Regions from separate parts of the Homo sapiens genome. Here region 1 is linked to region 2. Evidence: promoter capture Hi-C in 16 types of primary human blood cells and fetal thymus (Javierre and others, 2016). All regions are on one chromosome and are shown on one strand. The core of a region is centred on a gene start or on the middle of the fragment in contact, and the rest is flanking DNA. Distances in the headings are between cores, read along the strand shown.

Region 1 (4,351 bases), core at 739-3,238, 370 kb before region 2:
ATTTGAGAGTGTACTGGCACTGACAGTAGTTTACAAGAATGTGCAATTCAGTCGGAGAGCTCTGCAACAACTACTAATTGGTCTTTGGCACCTTGCAGCTTGTGGCTTTTTACCTAAGGGGATGGGATGGAGTCCTTATTTTGCTGTGTCCTCACCATGAACTTTGGGGATTTCCTTCCCTTAACTTTCTCACCTCCTTGAGCCTGGATGGCTCTTGGCACCAGCCATGCTAACAATCTGACAAAAAGGAATGGCTAAACCAATGTATCCCAATCCCTGGTTCTAGCTACTGAGCATATCTAATTCATTCCCAAATAGTCATTTGGGTGCTAAAAAGAGCAAATTAATCACACTCCTGTGAGTTTAAGCAGCAGGAGCAAGAAGGAGAGGTAAATATCACAGAGATTGAACCTGAAAAGTACCAGGGGTGGAAAAACTGTGTAAAACATACCTGGGGTAAAGAATCTGCACAAATATTAAATTTGATTGAAGGTTGGGAAAACAAAGAGTGGGTTCCTTGGAAGGTCACAGAATGCCCTGGTTCCTCTTGCTGTTAATGCAGTTGTGAAGTATGCTTATGCAATCATTGACATTTAGCCTTGAAAGGGTGTGGCTTATGGGCTTTGGCCAAGGTAAGTTCCCTTTGAGGATTTGGGATCAGGGATTTTCATCTCCCAGGGGCCCAAGGAGCTGCCTAGAGGGGCTGCCTGGGAAGAAGAAGACACTTTTCTAGGTATCTGGATGTGTGCAGTTTTTAATCACTCTTCAGGTTCCTTGCAACTACAGAAGAGAAAGAAAGTGAAATAAACAGGTTGTGCCCAGCAAAACTGAGATGGAGCAAAAGCATGAGGTGAGGACTGTGGGGCGAGTTTCACCCACAGAATTACGCTCCTGCTCTGGAAGTATGTTGAGAACTCCACAGGCTTTTATAGATACCTGTCATCAGAATCCAAGTACCGGCATTCAGCAAATATTTGTTGAGAGCAAGGGCCTAGTCTATTAAATACTCTAGTCCCCGAATTATAGTGTAAGCAACACATGAAAAGCTTGTTTGAAAATGCAGATTTCCAAGCCTAGCCATTCAATACCTTGGGACTGGGGCCTAGGGATCTGCACTAATATCAGGCAGCTCATTTGATTTGGGACCGTTAGTTCTTGGACTCTTATTGTTGCTTTGTAAAAACTAACCTTGGTCTCTTCAAAAGTTAGCACCCAATCAAAGTAGAGACTTGACTGGAAAATACAAACAAAATATTCTTTTGCCACCTCTTATTTGTTGTTTTTGATGTTGTTTTGTTACACACCTGAATTCTTCACTGTGTATTTTTTGACCTATTTATGGAAGATTAGTAACTTAATCTGGAATTACAAACTATCAGAAGCAACACAGTATCATTTTCACTTTTCCCCTTTCTTCCTTTCTCCCTCTGTCTGTCTCTCTCTCTCTCTCTCTCTGTGTGTGTGTGTGTGTGTGTGTGTGTCTGTCTGCCAATGTCTCTGTCTCTTTCTTTGCCTTAATGATAGTCATGACTATCATTTGTTTTGCCCTGCTGTCTGAAAAATGCAAAGTAGGTGTACAGTTGCAACTATCAAAAGCAACAATATGTACATTCTGGATCTGACTTCTCCAGTAATTTGTCATTACTTACAGCAAAAGCCTAAGGGACCCTGCCTGTGTCTGCCTGAAAGAGGAAAAGAGGGACAGTTCAAGAAGGAGGTGATCTGCAAGTCATTCTTTCCCTTGAAAACTTCCTCTCAAGCCTGGTGTGGTGGCTTGCACCTATATAACTACTCAGGAGGCTGAGGCAGGAGGATCTCTTCAGCCCAGCAGTCTGACGTGCAGTGAGCTATGATTGTGCCACTGCATGCCAGCCTGGGCAACAGAATGAGATCTTACCTCTAAAAAAAAAATTTTAATATTAAGCATTTTTTTTTCGGAATGTCAAAGATCCACAACATTCATTAGCAGTGGCATTCAATTTTTTTGACCAAGACCATACTAAAAATATATTTCATGTCACAATCCAACATACACACATACATATCTGTGTTGTGTATGTGTTTATATGAGCACATATGGAAAATAGAAACAATTATCTTATGAAACATTACTTACCTTTACCATATATACTCTGCTATTTTCTATGCTTGGCCCTTTCTTTGCTTTTCTTAGCCTTCCCTTCTCCCTTCTCCCTCTCTCTCTCTCTCTCTCTGTGTGTGTGTTTGCGTGTGTGTGTCTGTCAATGTCTCTGTCTCTTTCTTTTCCTTAATGATAGTCATGACACTATAAATGGTTTTGCCCTGCTGATTGAAAAATGTGAAGTAGGTGTACAGTTCCAACAGTTTTGAGTAGGACAAAAGAGGAGAGGAGCTGGAATTGGAAAACAAGTTTGTTCACTATTTTTTTTCTTTCTGTCTCAGTCAGTAACTCTGTTAATTTATCCAGGTCTACCTTAGCTAAGATAGTATATACATCCTACTTTTACTGTCTTAGAGGCTGATATTCCAAAGTAGTAGAAATGCTCAGTGGAATATATTGATAAACAAATGAGTCTGTACTTCTTACCAGCTTGACCTCCTCACTGTCTTCTATGTGACACCCTCATTTCTGCCCAGATGTCTTTATCTCTTAACCTAGAATTCTAGCTACCTGCTAAATCATTCTCTTTGCCTACTCTTCTTACCTCCAGGGCCACCAGTAGAGGTTTGCACTGACTTTCCCAGATCTTGAAGGCTACTAAAGGTACAAGGGAGAACACTTCATTTCCTAGAGTAGTGCTCAGCCAGGTGCAATCTACATCAAAGGAAAGATAAGCAATGCTGTTGTTTTTCAACCGAAGCTGTTATTTTCATAACTTGTAAATGAACTAAAGATTCCAAGAACTCGAGGTCCTCACAATCAGCTTTCTTCATCCAACAAGCAAGCTTCAATTTCATCGTAGCATTTTTATTGTGTGCAGTAAAAACATTCACAATTTTGTTTGCTGTTGATGATCTGAGTGTTTGGTTTTGAAAAAAAATTAACAAAGAAGCCAATTTTGTGAGTTATTTTTCATCACAGAGGAGAAATATTCACCTTAGCACTACCTTTGTTGTGGCACCTTTCCATCTCCATGAAGAAAAATAGCCATCCAGTCCAGATTGCAAGTGCTACTCAGTATCCTTCTCACACATATCTTACTAAAAATGTTTTCACTGACTTTTTCTTTATTTAACTATCAAGTATTTGGCAAATTAATATCTTGAAAGACATCTTCATTATAAATATTATTTTAATGATAAAATTATTAACTTGTAAATTTTTATCTAGCTCTAAGCAATTGGTTTTTATCTTAATTCGTTTCAGTATACTATTGTCATTCACTGAATGCCCAAGAACAGGGAATCTATCAAAAATGATTAAGATCATGTCAAAAGGACACAAGCACTAATTTGAAAGGGTATGCATTGGCTAAAGATGTGGTAATAGGAGCATTAAAAAGGTAATAATAATGATAGCAATACACTGATGCACACCAAATATGTAAAAATCCATGAGTTCATAAAGATGTTCCAAAAAAGAAAGTAATCAACCACCTCTGGAGAGTACTAGATCAATTAATGTATTCTGAAAATTACTAAAGAAAAAGTGAAATATTAAACTTCATTGCTTTTTTAATACATATTTAATACATGATATTTTTAATACATATTTGCAGCCTCTGTGTTACCAAAGTGGATTTGGCCATATTTGTAATGTAAGGCTTCAACACATTTTCCTATGATGTGAGCTTTGCCTGCTAAGATGATTCTGAAACTAACTTTGCCCAATTTTGCTTTTTCTATAATTTCATATGAATGCAATCATTCAGTGTGGTCTTTTGTATTTGACTTCTTTCGTACAGCACTTTGTTTTTGATATTCATCCATGTAGGAAAATTTTTTATTGTTTTTTATTGCTGAATAGTATTCCACTGCATGTGCTCATCACAATTTGCTTACCCATTCACTAGCGCTTTTCCTGCATCTGCTGAAAGGATTGTTTTTCCCCCTTTATTCTATTAATCCTGCCAATTACATTGATTGATTCTCAGATATTAAAAAAGCAGCTTTGCATTCCCAAGATAAGCCCCACAGGTCATGATGTATTGTCCCTTTAAATGTTGTTGAGTTTCATTTACTAAAATTTTGTTCACGACTTTTGTGTCTATGTTTATGAGTGATATTGGTCTGTAACTCTCTTTTGAAGTCTTTCACTGGTTTTGGTATCAGAGTAAATCTGGTCTCATAAAATGAATTCAGAAATATTTTTGCAATGCTCATTTTATGCCTTGCAGAACTTTGAGAAATATTACGCATAAAGTGTAACATG
Region 2 (4,600 bases), core at 1,750-4,249:
TAATTTGTTCACTTATTGTTTCATTTTTTTTCTATTATTCATTCAGAAGGCATTTTCTGAGTACACATTATGTGAAGTGTATGGACCATAACTCATACAGGCAAAAAAAGAACAAATGGTCTTGGCTCTGGAGAAGTTTAGAATATGGAGGAGAAACAAGTAAATTAAGAATTATGATACAGGATAAGTTTTTATTACAAGTATAGGGAGTGAAGTGTTGCATGGCAGGGATTAGTGTTATATTAGGAAAGGAATGCCAAGAAGGTGAATTTGGGCTGATTCTTTTCTTTTCTTTTTTTTTTTGAGACAGTGTCTCACTTCCATAGCTCAGACTTGGGCTAATTCTTAAAGAAAAATACAATAGAGGGGAGGAAGATATGATAGGAGATGAGGATAGTCAGGCTCCATCTTTTTTTTTTTTTTTTTTTTTTTTTTTTTTTGGGACGGAGTTTCACTCTTGTTGCCCAGGCTGGAGTGCAATGGCACGAACTCAGCTGACTGCAACCTCCGCCTCCTGGGTTCAAGCAATTCTCCTGCCTCAGCCTCACAAGTAACTGGGATTACAGGCATGCACCACCATGCTTGGCTAATTTTGGTATTTTTAGTAGAGACGAGATTTCACCATGTTGGTCAGGCTGGTCTTGAACTCCTCACCTCAGGTGATCTGCCCTCCTCGGCCTCCCAAAGTGATGGGATTACAGGCGTGAGCCACCACGCCCGGCTCAGGCTCCATCTTTTAAGCAAAGGAGTTTGGATTATGAGGAGCCCTTTAAGCAGGGAAGTGATGTTTATAAATCTTACAGCTCAGAATTCTAAAGTTTAAAATGAATACAGACTTTGTGAAGACCCATAATTCATTCTGAAAATATAAATGATATTTTGTATTATCTCCTGAACAAATTATCTACCTGACTGCTTTCATCCATTAGCAGAGATAATTGGGAGGTTACTGTCTTTCTTATGTCTTGCCTTGAACACTGAATCTTGATTACTCTAAGTTGGACTTAGTTAATTTATTTACTTACTACTTATTTGAGACAGAGTCTCTGTCACCCAAGCTGGAGTGCAGTGGCACCATCTCGGCTCACTGAAACCTTCGCCTCCCGGATTCAAGAGATTTTCCTGCCTCAGTCACCCTAGTAGCTGGGATTACAGGACTGTGCCACCATGCCCACCTAATTTTTGTATTTTTACTAGAGATTGGGTTTTGCCATGTTGGCCAGGCTGGTCTCGAACTCCTGGCCTCAAGTGATCCACCTGCCTTGGCCTCCCAAAGTGTTGGCATTACAGGCATGAGCCACCATGCCCAGCTTATGTTGTTTTATATATTAGAGACCTGTGAGCTCTTTTTATTTTATGTAAATAACTTAAAAACTTGTTAACATTATTCAAACGACTACAGCACTAGTAGCAGTTTTTTAAAACTATTTTTCTACATATTAAACCCACTTTACTCACATTATTTATAATTATCTGTATTTTTCTAAATTGTAAAATCATTTGAAGAAATCTTGTCCAAATGACTTTGTAATAACTTGTATGTTTGTATTATAAATGCAATTCAAATATCTTTTCTTGTTAAAAATAAGGACTTGCTTTTTCGGGGTATGGAATTTCTTGCAATAGACTGGAAGTAACAATGCCTGCACTTTTACCAACTCAATGTCATCCTGGATAAGTTACATCTCTGGCCTTTGGGGTCCTACTCTATAAAATGAGAAAACTGAAATCGTTGATCCCTATGATTTCTAATTTTCTTTCATTCTAATTATCGGCAGAATTGGAAGCAACTTACATTCTGGTTTCAGGAATACATGAGTTCAAATATTGCTCTACCTAAAGTTCAGAGCATTGTTTAACCTCTTTAAATTTGGAAAACAGGGATATTAAAACATGCCTAACAGTGCTATTGTGTGGATTAAATGATGGCTTCATTTTTTTTCTTGCCTTAGGAGTAGGCTTAAGGTAAGATTTGTTTAGTGATTTGTCTCATGGACATCTCCGTTAAGTAAGTAGAAGTATTTCGTATATGTGGTATCCACAATACTGGCTTGATTTTTTCTTTTAAGTTAAACCTAAGAAGGCCGAAGAAATTTTGGGGGAATCACTATAAAATGAAAATCATTATAAAATGAAAATGGACGCAACTTCTTCCCCACTTCCCAACGTTACTGTTTGCGGAACATACTCAAGAACCATTCCATGCAAAGTTTTACATGATCGGAAGGAAGCAGGTCGTGCTCTTCACTTGCCAATTCCATGGTGCGGAATAAAAACAAAACAAAACAAAATATTTAGTGTCCAGCACTCCACGTGGGCAAGTATTTACAACTAACATTTCAAGTTTTAACATTTCATCACTTTAAATTTAAAAACAAAATCACTGAAGCAAATATCCCCAGATAAAAACCTACCCAATTTGCATTCTTTTATTTTTAATTTGCCTGAGGCCAATAATTACCTTCGTCTAGGAGAAGAATGGGTCAAATATTCACTCTGCCAGGTCCTGGCGTCCCGGAGTACCTTTGCAACAAACGCGTCCTAAACGCTCCAGACCCTCCACATCTCCCTTCCCGCTAGGGGGGCCTGTGGGGCCCGACCATCTGCCAACCCTTTTGTGTCTTCCGGCTCTTATTTCCTCCCCCGCGGAGATCTCACCTGCACGCCCTGCTGCTGGAGGCTCTGCGTGATGTAATCTAGACGGCGACAAACGCTCTTTTTGGCCTCGGCTGCCGCCTCCTTGGTGCTGCTCACTCGCACCACCACCTGCGCCCGGTCAGGGCCCGCAGACACTTCTGAGGTGCCGCTTACTTGCACCTCGCGGGTAGCAGTTTGGGCTTGTGTTGAGGAGAGGGGGTGGCGTAAGCCCGGTAGCGTCTCTCTCCCTGAGGCCAGGTTGTTCTCCCGGCTCCGGTCAGCCCAGGGAACCAGTTCCACGAACACTCGGGTCGGAGGGGTCTTTTGCAGAGACATAGCGATGGCAGCTGGGTTTCCATAGTAACTACCGGCCGACGGCGGCCGAAGGGGCCAATGCGCACCAGGGCTTGCCTGTGCACGGCGCAAAGTATGCCGGGATGGGTGTGGAGGCCGCGGAACTTCTGGCGGGCGCAAGCTATATGCCTTGTTGATCTTGCCGCATCTTTTTTACTAGATGTCGGCTGAGTGAGTAGCTACAGTTTTTAACATGTTTAACTTACGGCCTTCAAAAATTGTTAGCGGACTTTCTCTGTTGCCTCCTCAGTGAGCTCTGCCCTTTCTCGCAACTCCTTGTCGTCCCACCGCGCCTCTGCACCTCAGAGGAAGGAGAAGAGTAGCGAGGCCGAGCGGGTTTTTAGATTTCTCTGTGATTACCCCCAGCCTTGTCTTTTCTGACTTTACCGTCCCCGCTTGGGGTACTGCTTTTTGAGGCTCCCTCGGCCACATTTTTGTGGTTCGTGAGAGGTTTCAGTTGAGGTGAACTTTTTGCCCCTGTGATCTTGGACAGTTTATGATTCTTCATATCTCAGTATCATCTTCTCTAAAGCAGGGTTGATAATATTTTTTATATTAGTAATATATAATATATTCTAATATATATAATATATTCTAATATATAATATATTCTAATATATATAATATATTAATATTATCAAAGCAATGTTGATAATATTTTTCACATTTGCTATGTGCTTATAAGGCGCCCATTGTATGTAGAGTGCGTTGCATATGGAAAGCAGAGTGAACATAATGGATGTTTGTAATGATAGCTATGGCTTTGGCATCATTTTTGTGTCTCCCCATTTTTTTCTAAAATCCCTGGAATGGTTCGGGCCTTGAATTCCGACAGAAGAGATTTAGGTGGTAGCAAAGCACGTCCAACATGGAGTTTGCTGGGCCTGCACAACTTGGAGCTTCTCTGTACCCTTTTCTTCAGAGAACTTTTAGAACACAACCCTCAACTTCCCGTCTTCTGGATTCTCTTCCTAGCACTAAGCAATGATCTTTGTAAAAATAGCCCCACTGACTTATACGTCTTTACTATCTGAATTTTATCAAGAGAATCGAGGGGGGAAAAAAGAATTTTGAATAACTAGTTCTAGAAGGACAAGAACTGTTCTTTTAAAAGGACCCTGAAAAGCTGACAGTCCTCTTGTAGTTTCTTCACCATCGTTTTTTCTGTTCTTTTCGATTAGTATAATTCAACTAAATCAATGGTACCCCCCTCCTTTAATTAGGCTCATCACTAGATTAACATAATTTTGTGTATATCCATCTTGTTTATTGTTAGCTGAAAACAATTTTAATTTAAAAACTAACGTTAAGAACTTTCCGTCATAGTCTTTTATTATTTAAGACACCCAAAATAATGTTTCTTAAACTTGGTGAAAAATTCTTTTTCCCTTACGATAAATGCGGAAGAATATAGCCTCCAAAATAAATTATTGAATGAGTGAATGTCATAAACAAAAAGCAACAGGAGTTAAAGTGTAAGTATTTAGTATACGATAAAAGATTTCATATCAGTGGAAAATGATTACATGGTACAGGGATAATTGTAAGCTATATATATAATATACTATAGCTATATAGCTATAGTATATTTTATATATATATATATTTT

What was found. Contacts are between HindIII fragments. The CHiCAGO score rates a contact against its expected background, and 5 or more counts as called.
Region 1: a fragment that was not itself captured here is called in contact with the fragment with the promoter of IRAK1BP1 in region 2 in 4 of 17 cell types (naive B cells, activated CD4 T cells, non-activated CD4 T cells and 1 more); the score reaches 6.6 in naive B cells.

Annotation. Positions count from the first base shown.
Region 1 is chr6:79,235,378-79,239,728 of GRCh38, reverse strand. HMGN3-AS1 (HMGN3 antisense RNA 1) reads right to left here. Exons shown (of 2, transcript NR_040671.1): 2 at 2,929-4,351. Among named protein-coding and RNA genes, the nearest start is that of HMGN3, 2.9 kb to the right of the region's middle. The HindIII fragment of the contact is 1,879 bases long and covers 1,049-2,927 here.
Region 2 is chr6:78,865,950-78,870,549 of GRCh38, reverse strand. IRAK1BP1 (interleukin 1 receptor associated kinase 1 binding protein 1) reads right to left here and starts at 2,999. Exons shown (of 4, transcript NM_001010844.4): 1 at 2,659-2,999. The coding sequence starts at 2,973. It overlaps LOC107986613 (a long non-coding RNA gene), which reads left to right and starts at 3,060. Exons shown (of 2, transcript XR_001744210.2): 1 at 3,060-3,162. RefSeq lists enhancers at 2,212-2,812, 2,645-2,964, 2,995-3,104. The HindIII fragment of the contact is 7,957 bases long and covers 1-4,600 here.